3 separate regions of the Homo sapiens genome follow, and regions 1 and 2 are each linked to region 3. The links are contacts of gene promoters, found by promoter capture Hi-C in blood cells and fetal thymus (Javierre and others, 2016). All regions are on one chromosome and are shown on one strand. The core of a region is centred on a gene start or on the middle of the fragment in contact, and the rest is flanking DNA. Distances in the headings are between cores, read along the strand shown. Region 1 overlaps DENR (density regulated re-initiation and release factor). Region 2 holds the start of HCAR3 (hydroxycarboxylic acid receptor 3). Region 3 holds the start of RSRC2 (arginine and serine rich coiled-coil 2).

Region 1 (2,969 bases), core at 441-2,940, 230 kb before region 3:
TGGTTCAATCCTGTCATTTGGTGTTAGAGCCTGTACAGGCTAATAATGGACTAGAAGAACTGGAAAAGCTTCCAATTTTAACCGTAATTCTAATACTGGGTCAACTGCTTATTTTGTTTTTATTTATTTATTTTTGAGACGGAGTCTTGCTCTTTCACCCAGGCCGGACTGCAGTAGCACTATCTCGGCTCACTGCAAGCTCCGCCTCCCGGGTTCACGCCATTCTCCTGCCTCAGTCTCCAGAGTAGCTGGGACTACAGGTGCCCGCCACCGCGCCCGGCTAATTTTTTGTATTTTTAGTAAAGACGGGGTTTCACAGTATTAGCTAGGATGGTCTCGATCTCCTGACCTTGTGATCCGCCCGCCTCAGCCTCCCAAAGTGCTGGGATTACAGGAGTGAGCCACCGCGCCCGGCCTTTTGTTTTTATGTTTAAGGTTTAGAATGGAGTAGTTCAGTGTGTCCAATATCCTGAGATTTCTCAGGGAGAGGAAGGTGGTATACCATGTAGTCACAGCAATTACTACACACTGGGCACCTAGTATGTGCCAAATGTTTTGCTATGCCTTATATACATTATTATGTTTAGTTATCACAACCTTGTAAGATAAGTACCATATCTATATTCAGATGATGAAACTGAGGCTTAGAGTACATAACCACTTGCATCTGGATAACAGGATTTGAATCTGCCTGTTTCTGACGCTCATGCTATTAACCACTAACTTAGGTTACACAAAGTAAACAAGCAACTTAGTGGCACCTGACAGCTGAAAATGATCTGCCTTCACCTCACCCTACTAACATTCTAACATGCTACCACACAATCACTATTTTACAGATGGGGCACTAAAAGAGTTAAACAGCTCATACAATGACAAAGGTGGTATGTGGCAGAAGAAAACTGGAATCCATTGGTTTTGTCCAGTCTAGTCTATTATAGTTTAGGGTTATTTCCACCAAAGATCTCTCTGGTTAGCTACAGCCCTATATTCCTCACAATTCAAGTTCAAATACTAGGCATAGTTGTTCAGCCACACTTTCAGGATATAACTATACAATTATTGGTTAAACACCATCACAGCAAATACTAAAGCTACAAATTTTGTATACTATTTCAAATAATATTTAGTTCAGAAAAAAAAAAAAATTGGGGTTTTGCTCTGTTGCCCAGGCTGGAGTGCAATGGCACCATCTCAGCTGGCTGCAACCTCTACCTCCTGGGTCCAAGTGATTCTCGTAGCTCAGCCTCCCGAGTAGCTGGGATTACAGGTGTGCACCACCACACCCAGCTAATTTTTGTATTTTTAGTAGAGACAGGGTTTTGCCATGTTGGCCAGGCTGGTCTTGAACTCCTGGCCTCAAGTGATCTGCCTGCCTTGGCCTCAGCCTCCCAAAGTGCTGTGATTACAGGTGTGAGCCACTGTGCCTGGCCCGGTTCAGCAAAATTCTAATGCAATAAAAAAATTGGGGGAGCTCCTTTAAGTTCACCATTATTTGCTTTAAAAAAGTCAATTTCTCTTTACAGATCACTTACTTATTTGGAAAGGGAAAACTGTACCTTTTCAATGCAAACATTTAGCCGTCACCTTCAAACTTAGCATCACTAATAGTGAAACATCTGACATTATGAGCTCTTGATGCAATGCAACATGATGAATGAAACATCATCCACGAAACTTTCTTGCCAAAATCTGTTTAACTTGAATCTAATTAAGCCTCTAGGCCGGGTGTGGTGGCTCACGTCTACAATCCCAGCACTTTGGGAGGCCGAGGTGGTGGATCACCTGAGGTCAGGAGTTCAAGACCAGCCTGGCCAACATGGTGAAACCCCATCTCTACTAAAAATACAAAAATTAGCCGGGTGTGGTGGCGCACACCTGTAGTCCCAGCTACTCAGAAGGCTGAGGCAGGAGAATCGCTTGATCCTGGGACGCAGAGGCTGCAGTGAGCTGAGACTGCCACTGCACTCCAGCCTGGGCAACAGGGCAAGACTCCAACTCAAAAAAAAAATAAATAAATAAAAAATTAAGCCTCTAGACTCCAGCTTCTTTTTTTTTGTTAAAGAGACAGTCTCACTTTGTCACCCAGGCTATAGTGCAGTGATGTGATCTTAACTCATGCAGCCTTGAACTCCTGGGCTTAAGTGTTCCTTCCACTACAGCCTCCGAGTAGCTGGAACTACAGGCACTTGCCACCACACCTGGCTAATTTATTTAATTTTTTGTAGAGGCAGGGTCTCACTATGTTGCCCAGGCTGGTCTCAAACTCCTGAGCTCAGATGATCTGCCTGCCTCGGCCTCCCAAAGTGTTGGAATTAAAGGTGTGAGCCACTGTGCCTGGCCAAATGAGCAAAGTTACCACCACATGGAAACATGGAATGGGACTAATCCACAGCCAGGTACCTCTTGATAAAATGCACTGAAATTAACAGCACTTCTGTGGTGGTCTTGGCACAAGATCATAAACTAAATCTAGTCTTAAGAACACATCAGAATGGCCGGGTCTGGTGGCTCACGCCTGTAATCCCAACACTTTGGGAGGCCGAGGCGGGTGGATCACAAGGTCAGGAGTTCAAGACCAGCCTGGCCAAGATGGTGAAACCTCATCTCTACTAAAAATACAAAAATCAGCCAGGCACGGTGGCAGGCGCCTGTAATCTCCGCTACTCGGGAGGCTGAACCAGGAGAATCACTTGAACCCTGGAGGCGGAGGTTGCAGTGAGCCGAGATCACGCCATTACACTCCAGTCTGGGCAACAGAGTGAGACTCCTTCTGAAAAACAAACAAACAAAAACTGCCTTTCTATAACAGAGAATGAACAGCCACAATCAGCTTCCTGAAAGTCAATATTTTCAATTACAAATTTCGCTGTCAACAGTCACCAAAATCACTAACTTTGCACACAGTGTCACTAAGCCTCAATCATCTCATACTTTAAAGTCTTCTAAATTTGGGGAGGAGGGTGGAA
Region 2 (2,700 bases), core at 41-2,540, 190 kb before region 3:
CGGGTGGATCACAAGGTCAGGAGTTCGAGACCAGCCTGGCCAACACAGTGAAACCTCGTCTTTACTAAAAATACAAAAAATTAGCTGGGCGTGGTGGCGCACGCCTGTAGTCCCAGATACTCAGGAGGCTGAGGCAGAAGAATTGCTTGAACCTGGGAGGCGGAGGTTGCAGTGAGCTGAGATTGTTCCACCGTTCTCCAGCCTGGGTGACAGAGTGAGACTCTGTCTCAAAAAAAAAAAATCACATCCTAAGGTCCCAAGGACATAAAACAAGTTAGAGACCTCATCCAGTTTTTTGTTTGTTTCAGGGACCTGCAACCAACTTTCTTACTGACCAGTTTCCTGGGCTGTCTAGAACAGACAGCTTATGGGGTACTAACCCCATGCTCTATCCTAAGGTACCCCTCTTCATGCAGAGCGACACAGAAAAACAAATTTGTAGCACAAAGTACACCCGATTTGCTACAGCTTACAACTAGCCTCATGAATCCTTTTCTCATTAATTCAAAGTTTGCAAAAAAAAGAAATCACATACTTAAATCACTTGAGCACAGAAGCATATCAAAATCTAATATAAACAAACAAAAAACCCAACTTATTTTAACATGCCACTGAAACTGGGCTCAAGTTTTCAAACATCTTATGAAATATTACACTCTCCAGCAGGCTTTTTTTTTTTTCCTAACTGGAGATGAATGGCAGAGTTCTGATATGGAAAAGCACTCCATGTTTGTACAGAAAGGTAGCATAGGAAAAGTGGTCAAATTCAACCAGTCTGTCCTCATCAAACAGGCAACTACTGTCTTCTCAGCATTTCCAAAAGAAATCATATGCCTGCTACTGTTTATGTCATATGCCTGTTAATTTTTCATGCTAATTCTTAGTGTTTCTGGAAAACCTCACTGTTTGGCACCAAAAATTATTATTGCTATTGTTGTTGTTTTGTTAATTATGTCAGCCAAGCAGATGACGGTGAATTAATTCTGCAACGTTGAGTACTCAGTTGGCATACAAGCACCCAGCCTTCCAAAGGGATGTCCTTCATGTTTCACTGATTTTCGAATGACAGTCAGCTTGCCTAAACTTATCCTTTACATTTAAGACATTTGGTGGGTTCCTGTATGCCCAGGGGATTTTTATTATTTGTTTATGCAAACAGCAGGTTGCATAAGAGCCTTGCTGGCTTTTTTTTTTTTTTTTTTAGAGATTTCGTAGTTTCCTGATAACCATTCAGTCATCTATTTCAACACCCTGACATGACATAAAGGCAGGCACGGAACCACACGTTCACCATACAGACACACGCCACTTTGCTGGAGCATTCACTAGGCGAGGCGCTCCATCGGACTCACTAGCTGCACTCATGAATCGGCACCATCTGCAGGATCACTTTCTGGAAATAGACAAGAAGAACTGCTGTGTGTTCCGAGATGACTTCATTGCCAAGGTGTTGCCGCCGGTGTTGGGGCTGGAGTTTATCTTTGGGCTTCTGGGCAATGGCCTTGCCCTGTGGATTTTCTGTTTCCACCTCAAGTCCTGGAAATCCAGCCGGATTTTCCTGTTCAACCTGGCAGTAGCTGACTTTCTACTGATCATCTGCCTGCCGTTCGTGATGGACTACTATGTGCGGCGTTCAGACTGGAAGTTTGGGGACATCCCTTGCCGGCTGGTGCTCTTCATGTTTGCCATGAACCGCCAGGGCAGCATCATATTCCTCACGGTGGTGGCGGTAGACAGGTATTTCCGGGTGGTCCATCCCCACCACGCCCTGAACAAGATCTCCAATTGGACAGCAGCCATCATCTCTTGCCTTCTGTGGGGCATCACTGTTGGCCTAACAGTCCACCTCCTGAAGAAGAAGTTGCTGATCCAGAATGGCACTGCAAATGTGTGCATCAGCTTCAGCATCTGCCATACCTTCCGGTGGCACGAAGCTATGTTCCTCCTGGAGTTCTTCCTGCCCCTGGGCATCATCCTGTTCTGCTCAGCCAGAATTATCTGGAGCCTGCGGCAGAGACAAATGGACCGGCATGCCAAGATCAAGAGAGCCATCACCTTCATCATGGTGGTGGCCATCGTCTTTGTCATCTGCTTCCTTCCCAGCGTGGTTGTGCGGATCCACATCTTCTGGCTCCTGCACACTTCGGGCACGCAGAATTGTGAAGTGTACCGCTCGGTGGACCTGGCGTTCTTTATCACTCTCAGCTTCACCTACATGAACAGCATGCTGGACCCCGTGGTGTACTACTTCTCCAGCCCATCCTTTCCCAACTTCTTCTCCACTTTGATCAACCGCTGCCTCCAGAGGAAGATAACAGGTGAGCCAGATAATAACCGCAGCACGAGCGTCGAGCTCACAGGGGACCCCAACAAAACCAGAGGCGCTCCAGAGGCGTTAATCGCCAACTCCGGTGAGCCATGGAGCCCCTCTTATCTGGGCCCAACCTCAAATAACCATTCCAAGAAGGGACATTGTCACCAAGAACCAGCATCTCTGGAGAAACAGTTGGGCTGTTGCATCGAGTAATGTCACTGGACTCGGCCTAAGATTTCCTGGAACTTCCAGATTCAGAGAATCTGATTTAGGGAAACTGTGGCAGATGAGTGGGAGACTGGTTGCAAGGTGTGACCGCAGGAATCCTGGAGGAACAGAGAGTAAAGCTTCTAGGCATCTGAAACTTGCTTCATCTCTGACGCTCG
Region 3 (2,841 bases), core at 202-2,701:
TGGGCTGAGAATTGAAGATCATAGTTTTATAAATGTTTAAAGAGTTCTTCCTAAGAGCATAAGCAAGGGAACAGAAACAAAACATGTTTGGAGAATAGAGAAGTTTCAGTGGCTGGTGTTTGGGTGGGAGTGAGGAGATGAAGAAGGAGGGACAGGTTGGAATGAATACCTTTATGGGTCTCAATTTCCCACATCTGTGAAATAGAGAAACCGCCCGTAACTGCCATATTTACTTATTCAACAAATGTTTATTGAATACCTATTTACTATGTGCCAGACACCTTTCTAGGAACTGGGAATATAGCTTGAACAGAACACAAAATGTCTTTGCCATTATGAAGTTTATGTTTTTGCGGGAAAAACGGACAAAAATAAAATTGTTAATACGTATCTTGTTATGCTACCTCCACAAAAAAGCAACTGCACAAATAATTACAAAAAGTGCTAAATGATTTGAAGGAAACAGTGATTAAATGGATAAGGTGAGGCGTCGCTGAAGAAGGATTTGTTTGGGAAGGGAAGGAGGTGACATCTGAGCTGAGACCTGAATAACAAGAAGTACGCAAAACTTAGGCGGAACGCGACGTAGGCAGAGGGAACAGAGTGCAAAGACTCGGAGGCTGGGTAGGAAGCGTTTGATGCTGCTGCCGGGTCAAAGCAAAAGCAGAAGACAGTGAGGGAGAGAGCAGTGGAGTCCAATAAAACCTCGACCTCAAGATTGAATTTTATTCTCAGTACAAGGGGTAGAAGGGGAACTCAGCAAACGAGTGGTCTGATTTTATAATTTTGAGATCACTCTGGCGGCGGAATGCAGAACAGATTCGCGAATACGAGAGAATGAGCAAGATGAAACACTTGTCAGTTAGGCCTCCATACTTAAACGCTCTCCGCTGGACATCGCCGCCAGCAAAAACCGACTCCAACCTCTCTCCTGCCAGCGTCAAGGGGAAAACAACAGGAACTGAGCAGAGGCTGCAGCTACTTCGTCCTGAACCCACCCCCAGTTCCCTACACAGCGCAGCTCCCCGTCCTCACCTGCAATTGAAGAAACTAAAGAGGAACACTCAGATATCTGGCCCCTCTTCCTGACTCACACAACCGCCTCTAGTCTTTAGGTTCCATGCCACAGGCTTAAATTGGCGGGAGAACACTAAACCCAACCCCTTTACGGCGGCCGGAAGAGACCAAGATTACTTTAGACTCGAAATAGGAAGTTGCCCCACCCTGAGTTCCGCCCATTCCGTTCTCCCGACTGCGCATTCCGGGGGTGTATTCTTGGCCCCGCCCTCTTCACGGTCTTTACACTCCCCTATGAAAGAACACCCAATCACCGCCTCGAATTGCGTTGTTATAGAAACTTTTGTTACCGCCCCTTTTTCTCCCAGCAAGCTGTGCGACGCGCCGGGCCTCCTCGCCTTTGTGCCATCCGGGTCTCTCGCGCGAGCGATTTAGTCTGAGGCGAAGCTTCGGAGCGGCCGGTACTGTTGAAAGCGACAAGTGGAGGCGCCGCTCTAGCGGCCGGGACTCTGAACTATGGCGGTAGGTACCGAATCTGAGTTTAAAGCCAGGGATATTTTTCTGCTACGTTCCAACAGTGGGTGAACGGCTCCCAGAACCTTGTTCGTGTGTATGTGTGTAGACAAAATGGCGCCGCGGCCTTCTTCTGCGCCCGCCATCATGGCTGCCTGCTGTAGGGAGGGGGAAGTAAGGCGGTGTTGGTGGGGGTGGGGAGCCGCAGGGAGTGCCTTTTTTTTTCCAGAACTTTCCTCCTCTCTTCCCCAACCCTACGTTCCTTTCGCCTCACTGAACTTCCTCCATTTTCGCTTATTCACCCTGGCTAGTGATTTATTCTAAGTTTTTTTTAGGGCCTGAGAATTTGCGGTGGAGAAAGGGGCTGGGGAAGAGAAAGACGATCAGGAGTGGTCTCTGAAAAGTATTGGGTCAAAAAGGCAGTGTCTGTAAAGGGTAGTGTGGGAGAAGAGAGCGACTTGTAGCTATTTTTTTTTTTGTACGCTCAATGAGATGCTTCTAGTTGCATAATTTCAATTAGTGTTCGTCCGTGTAAACCTTATTATTGTGTATTAACGAGCTAGGAAGGTATTGCTGAAAGGGAGTGAAAATTCAACTTAAAAGGTTGTGGAACTACCAATTCTGACTGATGCGCGGTTTCCGAAGTGGCCCGTGATGTAATCAATTTGAAGTCCGAGAAGCGTTACAGTTAAGTCTTGTCACTGACCTTGTTCCTTTAAATTTAAACCCTTCGTTGGCCGGGCGCGGTGGCTCACGCCTGTAATCCCAGCACTTTGGGAGGCCGAGGCGGGCGGATCACGAGGTCAGGAGATCGAGACCATCCCGGCTAAAACGGTGAAACCCTGTCTCTACTAAAAATACAAAAAAATTAGCCGGGCGTAGTGGCGGACGCCTGTAGTCCCAGCTACTTGGGAGGCTGAGGCAGGAGAATGGCGTGAACCCGGGAGGCGGAGCTTGCAGTGAACCGAGATCCCGCCACTGCACTCCAGCCTGGGTGACAGAGCGAGACTCCGTCTCAAAAAAAAAAAAAAAAAAAAAAAAAAAAAAAAAAAAAACTCTTCGTTGACCCCAGAGGAGCTACAGTTCGTAAATTATCTATTCTGAACAATAAGCCTGCGTGTGTATAAGATACCCAATTCTGACGGATCCACATTATTTTGTGCTTACCTCATTTTTATTCCGTTAAAAGGAAAATGTAAAGATTTTGCATTCCTTTTTACTGACTAAAAAATTACATCATTTTCGATAATAATTATGACTCTTAAACATAGTGATAGTTTTAAAGTTTGCTCTTCCTAACGATTGGAATGC

The links. Contacts are between HindIII fragments. The CHiCAGO score rates a contact against its expected background, and 5 or more counts as called.
Region 1: a fragment that was not itself captured here is called in contact with the fragment with the promoter of RSRC2 in region 3 in 1 of 17 cell types (endothelial precursors); the score reaches 8.0 in endothelial precursors.
Region 2: a contact is called between the fragment with the promoter of HCAR3 here and the fragment with the promoter of RSRC2 in region 3, in 1 of 17 cell types (endothelial precursors). The highest score is 6.3, in endothelial precursors.

What each region holds. Positions count from the first base shown.
Region 1 is chr12:122,757,897-122,760,865 of GRCh38, reverse strand. The region is part of intron 2 of DENR (density regulated re-initiation and release factor); the gene reads right to left. Among named protein-coding and RNA genes, the nearest start is that of DENR, 6.6 kb to the right of the region's middle. The HindIII fragment of the contact is 3,240 bases long and covers 71-2,969 here.
Region 2 is chr12:122,715,401-122,718,100 of GRCh38, reverse strand. HCAR3 (hydroxycarboxylic acid receptor 3) reads left to right here and starts at 1,290. Exons shown (of 1, transcript NM_006018.3): 1 at 1,290-2,700. The coding sequence starts at 1,364. The coding sequence ends at 2,527. The HindIII fragment of the contact is 15,173 bases long and covers 1-2,663 here.
Region 3 is chr12:122,525,546-122,528,386 of GRCh38, reverse strand. It overlaps RSRC2 (arginine and serine rich coiled-coil 2), which reads left to right and starts at 1,451. Exons shown (of 10, transcript NM_023012.6): 1 at 1,451-1,539. The coding sequence starts at 1,534. KNTC1 (kinetochore associated 1) reads right to left here and starts at 1,138. Exons shown (of 64, transcript NM_014708.6): 1 at 1,036-1,138. RefSeq lists an enhancer at 1,312-1,771. The HindIII fragment of the contact is 2,543 bases long and covers 1-1,466 here.